2 separate regions of the Homo sapiens genome follow, and region 2 is linked to region 1. Evidence: promoter capture Hi-C in human tissues and cell types (Jung and others, 2019). All regions are on one chromosome and are shown on one strand. Each heading gives the region's core, a stretch centred on a gene start or on the middle of the fragment in contact. The rest is flanking DNA. Distances are from core to core; before and after follow the strand shown.

Region 1 (4,925 bases), core at 853-3,352:
CTTATACCAACCTCTGGAGTTGGGTGACTTGGCTTCTCCCCTTTCTAGGTCCCGTGACAGCCATCTTGCTATTACTCACCTTCAGTCCCTGTATTTTTAACCTCCTCCTCAAATTTGTTTCCTCCAGGATCAAGGCCATCAAGCTACAGATGGTCTTACAAATGGAACCCCAAATGAGCTTAACTCACAACTTCTACCGAGGACTGCTAGACTGACCCACTGGCCCTTTGACTGGCCTAGAGAGTTCCCCTCTGGAGGACACTACAACGGCAGGGCCCCTTCTTTGCCCCTATCCAGCAGGAAGTAGCTAGAGTGGTCATCACCCAGTTCCCAGTAGCAGGTGGGGTGTCCTGTTATGAGGGAGGATTGAGAGGTGAGGCCAGCTGGACTTCCTAGGTCGAGTGGGGACTTGGGGAACTTTCCTGTCTTACAAGAGAATTGTAAAATGCACCAATCAGCGCTCTGTAAAACGCACAATCAGCAGCATTCTAAAAGTAGCCAATCACGGGGAGGATTGAAAAAAGGGCACTCTGATAGGACAGAAATGGAACATGGGAGAGGACAATAAGGGAATAAAAGCTGGCCACCCCAGCCAGTAGCGGCAACCTGCTGGGGTCCCCTTCCATGCTGTGGAAGCTTTGTGCTTTCGCTGTTCACGATAAACCTTGCTATCACTCACTCTTTGGGTCTGCGCCATCTTTACGAGTGTAACACTCACTGCGAAGGTCCACAGCTCCATTCTTGAAGTCAGCAAGACCACGAACCCACCGACAGGAACCAACTCTGGACACAACTATAGCCTCCAACTCCTGGGCTCAGGCAATCCTTCTGCCTTAGCCTCCCAAGTAGCTGGGGCTACATGCATGCACTAATGTCTAGCTAATTTTATTTTTATTTTTGGAGAGACAGGGTCTTGCTCTTTCACCCAGGCTGGTCTTGAACTCTCAGCCTCAAGTGATCCTCCCACCTTAGCTTCCCAAAGCACAGAGATTACATGCCTTTCCCTCAAGCTACTTGCCATCTCATCTTCCTTACTATATTAAAAGCAAAGGCTCCGGACATGGACTACTGGGGTTGGATTTCTGGCTCTGCTCTTTAACAGCTATGTGATTTGGACAGCTGGTTTCTTTCTGTGCCTCAGTTTCCTCATATGTAAAAGGAGGATATGAACAATGGCTTCCATGCCTGGCCTTCTTTTTCACTTTATAAATAAGTATACTTCTCTCCTTTCTGAATGTGGGAATAATACATTGTTTATAAATTTAGAAGTTGGAAACTACAAAAAAAAAAAACACAAAAAAAAGAGAGAGAGAAAGAAAATCATTACATTATTCCTAATCTCATTTGATGTACTTTGGCCTATTTCTTTCAGGCACTTTTCTGCATGTACCTTTTTTCCATAGCTGAAACCATATTGTATAAATAGCTTCAGATTCTGGTGGGGTGGTTTTTTCATGTAGTAGAACAGGTGTTTTCCCAAGTCCCTGAGCTCTCACTCTGCACACCCCATCTACCATTTCCCAGTGATGTGGCTTTGGGCGGTTGCTGCAGTTTGCTATTACACAAGTAAGCATGCAACCCACACCTGGGGAGAGAACTTTCTTCTCTCCTGAATCTCGGCTCGCATCTTTAAGCGCCACCCCATTAGACAGGAGGCAGCAGAAGCACAAAGCTCCATGAGTAACTCCTCTCCCTTTTGGAAAAGTTCACAGAAAGCAATTTTGGAGACCTTGGCAACGTTTAATTATGAACATTTAGAAAGACAACGGATCTCCTCATATGCACTGGGACTTCAGGGCCAGGTCTTCAGTTTCATGATTCGCATGATTCGCAGGGCTCCGGCACAGGAGCAATCTGAAAGCTGGGCTGCAAGCCCAGCGCGGTCTGCCTCCTGAGGCCCCGACCCACTGCGGCGGCGGCGCTGGGCCCCCTTACCTGGGCAGCGCCAGGGCCTCCTCCGTGCGGCCGAGGACGCCGAACACCGCTGGCAGCGCCAGCACCCCGTCAAGGTCGAAGACGGCCGCGCGCAGCGTCATGGCGGCGGGTCTGCAGCCTAGCACCCGGACACGCAGCTAACCTGGGAGATGCGCGAAGGCCAGGGCGCATGACCCGCCCAGCTTGGCCCGGCTCTGCCCCGCCCCTGCCCTGGCCCCGCCTCCTCCCCACACCCCCTTAACGGGACTCCGCCCTCTGCCCGGGTTAAGGCTGGACTCTGGCCGGGAAAGAGGCAGGGGGAGGGGCACAGGAAAGGGAGTCAGAGGGAGAGGAAGAGGAGGCCGGGAAGGCGGGGACCCCAGGCTAGAATCTCGCCTCTGGATGTAACGCTTTCTACTGTCTCAAAGGAAAGTCCAAAGTCTCTTATGCCCCCTCCCCACGCCCCTGCAGTAGCTGCTTGAAGAGGCAAACCCAGGCCCGGGCCTTCCTGGACGGACTGACAGCTCCCTGCGAACTTGCTGGACTTGGAATGCCTGGGAAAGAGGCCACAGACTCTGTGTGTGTGTGTGTGTGTGTGTGTGTGTGTGTGTGTGTGTGTGTGTGTGTGTGTCAGCACATCCAGTGACTTCTACATTCAGAACATAAGACCGTGTTGGGGGGCGGGGGAGGGGCATATCCAGTGACTTTTCTAGATTCAGAACGAAGGATCACAGATCCCTCACTATCCTGACCACTCCTCTAGGCACGCTCTTCTTTGCCAAGGCAAATGTGTTTCTAGAATAAAATATGATGTTCCAGCTATCGTGTGCCAGCCCAGAATACTTCGATTTCAATCTCTTGTGGAATGAAGCTTAGAAGAACTAAATGTAGGCTATTATTTTCCTTTTGTACATGCTACTTGTAATAATTCTGTCTTAAAATGTGCGAGGTTTGTTTTTAATCACCGATTTCCACACTATTGGCTCGTTTATGTTCCTAGAAAAACTAAAACTTTGGCTGGGAGTTCTTGAGCTGTTGTAGTGCAGCTCCATGAATTAAAAACCGTGTCTTTGGTGGAGACCAAACAGAGTGAGTGAGGTCTCCAACAGTGGAGAATTTACTCTTGAATGTGTCTCTGTGGATTTATCCAAGATACCCTCCACCACGGAGCTTCAAGAACCTTGTGAGGGGTTGTCAGATACCTCACTGTAACTGGGAGGTCTACAACAGTCTCTGGATCTAGCAATCAACAACAGGATTGACCAGAGCCGTGGGTTTCCTCTGGGCTGTTTGCCCTTAGCAAGCTATGCTGTTGCTTCCTTCTCTAGCTTGGTAACCTCTTCCAGGCTCCTGCCTGGAGCAGTTATTAGTGTTTTCTGAGATTCTTGCCAAAGAAGCAGAGAGTGGCCAACACTGCCAAATGTTACAGGAAGAACTGAAAAAAAAGCTGTCCAATTTTGGACTTGGATGACACCGGATGTTTCAGAACACTTTTTGTGGGCCCTTTATGGTAGAAACTGGATTACTCTGGATTTGAAGACTGAAAGATAGGCAGAGAAGGGAGTACAGCAAGCTAGTTTCTCATGAAGTTAGTTGATCTCAAAGGTATAATTGAATTTTAAAAAATAGAAAGAAAATTGCAGCCTGACCTATATAGTATGAAACCTGTTAAATCTCCAGATTGGGCATGGTGGCACACACCTGTAATCCCAGCACTTTGGGGCTGAGGTGGGAGAATTGCTTGAGGCCAGGAGTTTGAGACAAGCCTGGGCAACAAAGCAAGACATTCTCTCTATAAAAAATAAAAATAAAATATTAGCTAGGCATGGTGGTGCATGCCAGTAGTCTCTGCTATTCAGGAGGCTGAGGTGGGACGATCACTTTAGCCCAGGAAGTGGAGGCTGCAGTGAGCCATGATTGTGCCACTGCACTCCATCCAGCCTGGGTGACACAGCAAGACTCTACCTCCAAAAAAAAAAAAGAAAGAAATTAAATCTCCAACTTAGAGTTTCCTTTGGGCTCCAGACTTGCCAACTTCTTACTCAACATCTTACTCAACGTCAATATCCAACTTCTTACTGAACATCTTCTCTTGAGTGTCTAACAGGCATCTCAAATTTATCATGGCTAAAACAGAACTCTCTCTGCATTTCTACTTCCCACGCCTGTTCCTCCTAGTGTGTTCCCTATCTTACAAACTGGCATCCCCATTGACTCAGTGGCTCAGTCCCGAGACCACGGAGTTGCTTCCAGATCCTTGGCTCCCAGCCAAACCATATGTTCGTGTTTCTAGCGGTGGCCTGCTGATTGAGGCAGAGATAGCAGCTTCTAGTTCTATGGTGGTGTTTTCTGGGAGTCCTTCCTAAAGGCTCAGTCTGGAGCTCACTCCTCCATTCCGTTCAAAGATTGTGTAGGCTTGCAGTCTCTCATCTTAAATCCCTTTCTTCTGTTTCTATTTAAAATAACTACAGTGATTTCTGTTGCCTGCATCTGAATTCTGCATCTAGCACAGTATTGCTTATGAATACGTAAGTATATTTATACAAGCAGTAAAGTGTAGAGGAACGACATACCTACAGAACTAGATTTCATAAAGCCCCCTTTTGAGAAGAAAAATTTAAAAACATAGAAATATGAGTTTTACTTTCCTCTTTGGTTAAGAGAAAGCCATGAAGCTATCACATGGACTTTTATTTATTCAGGAGCAGTTAACTTGTAAATAGCTCTGGTGTGGAATATTTTTATAATGCCTTGTGAGTTACAGAGCTTTCTGGCTGAATTGCTTAGGCAAAGATTAAAGGTCTCAATTGCATTTCACTGCACTTTGCCCTTTTTCATGGTCGTGCTTCTCCTGTGTTTTCTGCTACTAAGGTACAGAGAGATAAGGGCTTACCCAGCAGGGCTATGGGAACTGGGTGGCTTTTTGAAATGTAAATCCTAACCCCTATGTCTTCTAATTTTAATATTTATGAAATATGTTTTAGGTGATAGCATGAATCATAAAAGATGGC
Region 2 (4,925 bases), core at 1,092-3,591, 1.1 Mb after region 1:
GGTAATTCTGCATACATCTTGAAAATATTTATTGGTCTGATGAGTTTGCTAAACGTATTAAGGTGCTTTAATTTTAACAAGAGTTGAGGCCAGGTACAGTGGCTCACACATGTAATCCCAGCACTTTGGGAGGCTGAGGCACCAGGATTGCTTGAATCCAGGAGTTTGACACCAGCCTGGGGAACATGGCAAGACCCTGTCTCTACAAAAGAATAGTAAGTAAGTAAGTAAATAAATTGTTAACAGTAGCCAATAAACTTAACTTCACAGCAAAAAGAGATAGTGGTATATTTTGTTCATAATTTCCATTTCTTACAATAAATTTTGTTTTAGAAAATGTACCCAAGCAGCTTGGTGTGGCCATCCCTCTAAACTCCCAGCAGAAGTGTTAGAGAGTTCCAGGGATGAACAAGGAGTTCCATCAGTAAGTTGAAGTAAAATCATCAAAACTGGCTCAAACTCTAAAATGCACTCTAAATGTGGCGATGGCTACACCAGTTCCAGAGTGAACTGAACATCACCCTCACAAGAAGGAAAGCTCCAAGGCAGACCTAGCTGGGAATCTGACCCCATCACTTCCTGTCTACCTGTGTGACCTGAGCTTCAGCTTCCTCATTTGTAAACAGAGATAATAATAACACCGGGGTGCTGTGACGATTTAGTAGTATCAAGTGCTGGTAAATAGAAGATGCTCAGTTATACACTAGAATTTTCTTTTATAAATACTTAGAACCCTTTCCTTTCCATTTGAGGCAGCCCCAGTGGCTACCACCATCCCATAGTCACCACCAATTCCTTAGGACTCTGCTGCCAAACGACACAGTTGTACAACATCTCCATGGCCTCATTCTATACACACATAAAATGGACACAGGCTAGAGAACTCAAAATGGATTAACAAATACAACTAGCAAAGCTAAGAGAGATCTAACATTGAAGATAATTTATCTCGAGTGCCTCTGGAGTGTATAAGAAATACGCCAAAAGCATCCCTAAATTTAGAGCTCTGCAACATATTTCAACTGGAGAGAAAGGGGGTGGGGGAGAGAATATGTATATAAAAACAGTTTTTTTTTCTGACTCTCACTGTTTCTAGGATTTTCAAACTTATTTTTAAACCAATGGGACCAGTTCTTCTTGTATAGAAGCCTAATGTGTACAATAGTAACAAACCAAAACCCAGAGCTGCTCTGACAGAAGCAGAGGTAAGGAACCAGGAGTTCCAGATAGGTCTCTGTGGAAGTCAGTCTTCCCTAAAATACAATTAATATTCACTTGAAGTAGGCAATCGAAGAGAAAAAAGGGTGTAACAAACAATATCAGGTTTTCTGGTCCTTACTTTTGTTTTTCTTTTGAGACAGTCTTGCATTGTCACCCAGGCTGTAGTACAGTGGCACAATCACAGCTCACTGCGGCCTTGATTCCTGGGCCCAAGCAATCCTCCCACCTCAGCCTCCCAAGAAGCTGGGACTACAGGGCACATGCCACCATGCCCGACTTATTTATTTATTTATTTATTTATTTATTTATTTAGTAGAGACAGGGTCTCCCTACATTGCCCAGGTTGGTCTCAAACTCCTGGGCTTCAGCAATCCTCCCACCTCAGCCTCCCAAAGTGCTGGGCTTACAGGTATGAGCCACTGCTCCCAACCTGGTTTTTACTTTTTTGAAGGACTTTCAAATCAATGTCTGGATCCTATTTTCTTCATTAAAAACACATAAGCAATCATAATCCAATATATACTTTTGGAACCTGAAAGAGACATACCTAGAAAAGCTTAGTAAAAGTGATCTCTGCTGTGGCCTCCACACCCTGAATCATAACTGAAAGCATTTCTACTTAAGGCGGACAATTTGTACTTGGGATACACTGGTATAGTGTGGTCAGGGGCTGAGACTGAAGCCAGGCTCCCACTCTCAGTTATAGCTGTTACCCTCGCACAGGGTACTTAACCTCTTTGTGCCTCAGTTTTCTCATCTATAAAATAGAGATAATAACTGTATCTACCTCGAAGACTTTGTTAGGAGGATTAAATGAATATAGCACGCAGAACAATAAGAAAGGTCCCTAAGAAAGTTTTAGCTACTACAATTATATTCTATATCATAGAAAAACCATTCCTTACTGGAAAAATGTGTTCCTAGAAAACGTAAACATCAGTACATAAAATTAAAAATTAACATCTCTCCCAACCTCCCGTTCCTACTCCCAAAGGAGCCACTTTTGACAGTTTCACATGGAGACTTGCAGAGTTTTTGTCAATGAAATATAGGTCTGTTTTTGCTTTTGTTTTTATAAAGAAATGGAACTGTACCATACACACATACTGACATATTCTGTAAGTCGTTTTTCAGATGTCTTCCCTATCAATATATACTGACATTCATTCTTTTGAACAACTGCATTGCATCTCATCTTTTATAAAGATATACCATACTTTAACCATTATCTAAATGGCAATGGTTAACTACTACTGAGATGGTTGTTTCTAATACTTTGTTATTACAATTAGGGCTTCAGTGAACATTCTGGAGAATAATTTGACAATAGGTATTAACAGCCTTAAAAGTGTAGATTTCCTTTAATTAATTAAGGGTAATTCTCTTTCAAAAATATCATCTATGGAAATACATAGTGGTACAGAGAAAGTTATGTACACAGGCATTAAGAGGCTACATATTAATCTTTTGAGTAACACATAAAAAAGCAAATGTGTCTTCCTCAATAGATGAACAACACGTCTGTTTCCCATCACCCGATTTGTTCCTGATTTACAGCCTCAGAATTTCTTAGTGTTCTAACTCTACCAATCCTCACAAAGTCCCTTTTTACTTGGAAAGGAAACAAGGCTAGATAAGAGGTTTGTGCTGTCCAAGCAACACAAAGTAGAAAACAACCACAGAGTGAATTCTCCTCCTAATGATCAAGCTTGAAAACTAAAAGCTGGAAGCTTTCTCCATTATCTAAAAGACTTTACAAACTAAGAGCTGTTCCTTATGCCAATTTGTACATAACATACAATGACATGAGATATTTTCTGGTTTGGGTTTTTGGGAATGACTAAGAGATTCAGAGAAACTTCTGTGAATGCTTCTCCGTTCTCTAACATAATAGACTGTGAAGGGTGGTCCAATAATTGTGATTATACTCATTGCCGTATGTTGTATAATCTTTACAGTTTTATAATCACTAGTTCAATCCTCTTGCAAGAAGAAGAAGAGAGGAGCTTTGGGACAAGGGGAGGAGAGAATGAAGAGTATTTCTCCTCATCTTTCCCCCTAACTTTTCAAGGCCCACATGTAACTCTTTTGAAATTTCATTATATTTACATTCTTTCCTCAAAGCTTTTCATTCATTATTGAAAGGAATCCAGACCAGGCCAACCTGATGCTGAAATCCAGACCAGGCCAACAAGAGTTACTGGCATTCTTCTTAAATAAAAAAATAAATAAATAAATTTTTGAAAAGTTGGTCTTTTTGCAGCAGTATGTATTTACATACAAGTTACGTAGGTATTCAAAACATTATTATGAGGCAGTGACAATCCATGAAGGCCTTAAGAGCACTCTTCATAACAAGAAAGCAAGGACATTGTGCTTGAAGATGTTTCTATTTAAAAAAAAGAGTTTGTGACCAGCTTGGGCAACAAAGCAAAACTCCATCTCTACAAAAAATAAGTTAGCCGGTGACCAGCCTGGGTGACAAAGTGAAACTCGAACTCTACAAGAAATAAAATAATTAGCTGGATGTGGGGGTGCACACCTGCAGTCCTAGCTACTTGGGAGGCTGAGGCAGGAGGATCACTTGAGCCCAGGAGGTCTAAGCTGCCATGAGCTATGACTGTACCACTGCACTCCAGTTTGGGTGACAAAGCAAGACCCTGTCTCAACAAAACAAAAAACAAAAAAGAACAAGAAAATTTGAAAAGAAAAAAAAGGCTATACTTCTCAACAACAAGAATTATACTACGATTTACACTACTACTTTGATTTTCCTTATTCGGCCCTATTGAATCTTATTCAAACATTCTTAAGGAAGTTGATAGTTTTCTTAACAATAAAACAAACTGGACAACATCCTTTTGACTTGGAAGGAGTTTGGGTATTTGCCCTGTAATTTTTAATGAAAGTGAACAGTCTCTCCACAGCGGTAAAGTTAAAAAAAAATCACAAAAATACTTCACTATTCAAATACTTCAGTAATTTGCTATTGAAACCCTGCTTTGACCCCTGAACCAAAGATAAAATCCCAAACGCAAGATAATCTGTACATTTCTTCTCCTGTTTTTCAGTTGTGCAACTTTACCCAACAAAGTCCTTCGACTTATCAGCAATTTGGATAGTACTAGATGCCTGAATAAGTTGTTTTGCCCATTGCCCAAAAATCACTTCAAGGAATTCAATGAGGCTTCTTGTTTTGTTCAGTACAGTGTTGTGTAATGAGCTAAAAAAACGAACAGAGTGAGAGGCAAGAAGGGAGTAATTAAATATGGCAATATCTAAAAGCTTTTCAGAAAGCTCACCCTATCCCACACAAAATACTTTCTATCTAGCAGATGTCCCAAAGCAACATTTTGATGTCCCATGCAGGCTGAGTGTACTTCCACCTCTGTAAGAGCTGATGTCAGCCAAGCAGGAACCGACTGGCCAAAGACATCAAACTCCTCATAGGTCTGTCAGACACCAAGATAAACAATGACATATGGCTCAGCCCCCGCCCTCGCCCCTTTTTTTTTTTGAGACAGAGTCTTGCTCTGTCACCCAGGCTGGAGTGCAGTGGCGTGATCTCGGCTCACTGCAACCTCTGCCTCCCGGATTCAAGCGATTCTCCTGCCTCAGCCGCCTGAATAGCTGGGATTACAGGCGCCCAACACCAAGCCAGGCTAATTTTTGTATTTTCAGTAGAGAGGGGGTTGTTCTCTCAC

What was found. The method cuts DNA at HindIII sites, captures the fragments that hold promoters and counts their contacts. A contact is called where the count stands out against the background at its distance.
Region 2: a contact is called between a fragment that was not itself captured here and the fragment with the promoter of EPHX2 in region 1, in 1 of the 25 tissues and cell types used here (dorsolateral prefrontal cortex).

Annotation. Positions count from the first base shown.
Region 1 is chr8:27,488,320-27,493,244 of GRCh38, reverse strand. It overlaps EPHX2 (epoxide hydrolase 2), which reads right to left and starts at 2,102. Exons shown (of 19, transcript NM_001979.6): 1 at 1,936-2,102. The coding sequence starts at 2,036. RefSeq lists a silencer at 2,019-2,298 and a cis regulatory region at 4,045-4,359. The HindIII fragment of the contact is 8,102 bases long and covers 1,712-4,925 here.
Region 2 is chr8:26,385,416-26,390,340 of GRCh38, reverse strand. The region is part of intron 1 of BNIP3L (BCL2 interacting protein 3 like); the gene reads right to left. Among named protein-coding and RNA genes, the nearest start is that of BNIP3L, 4.8 kb to the right of the region's middle. RefSeq lists a silencer at 4,494-4,788. The HindIII fragment of the contact is 3,170 bases long and covers 757-3,926 here.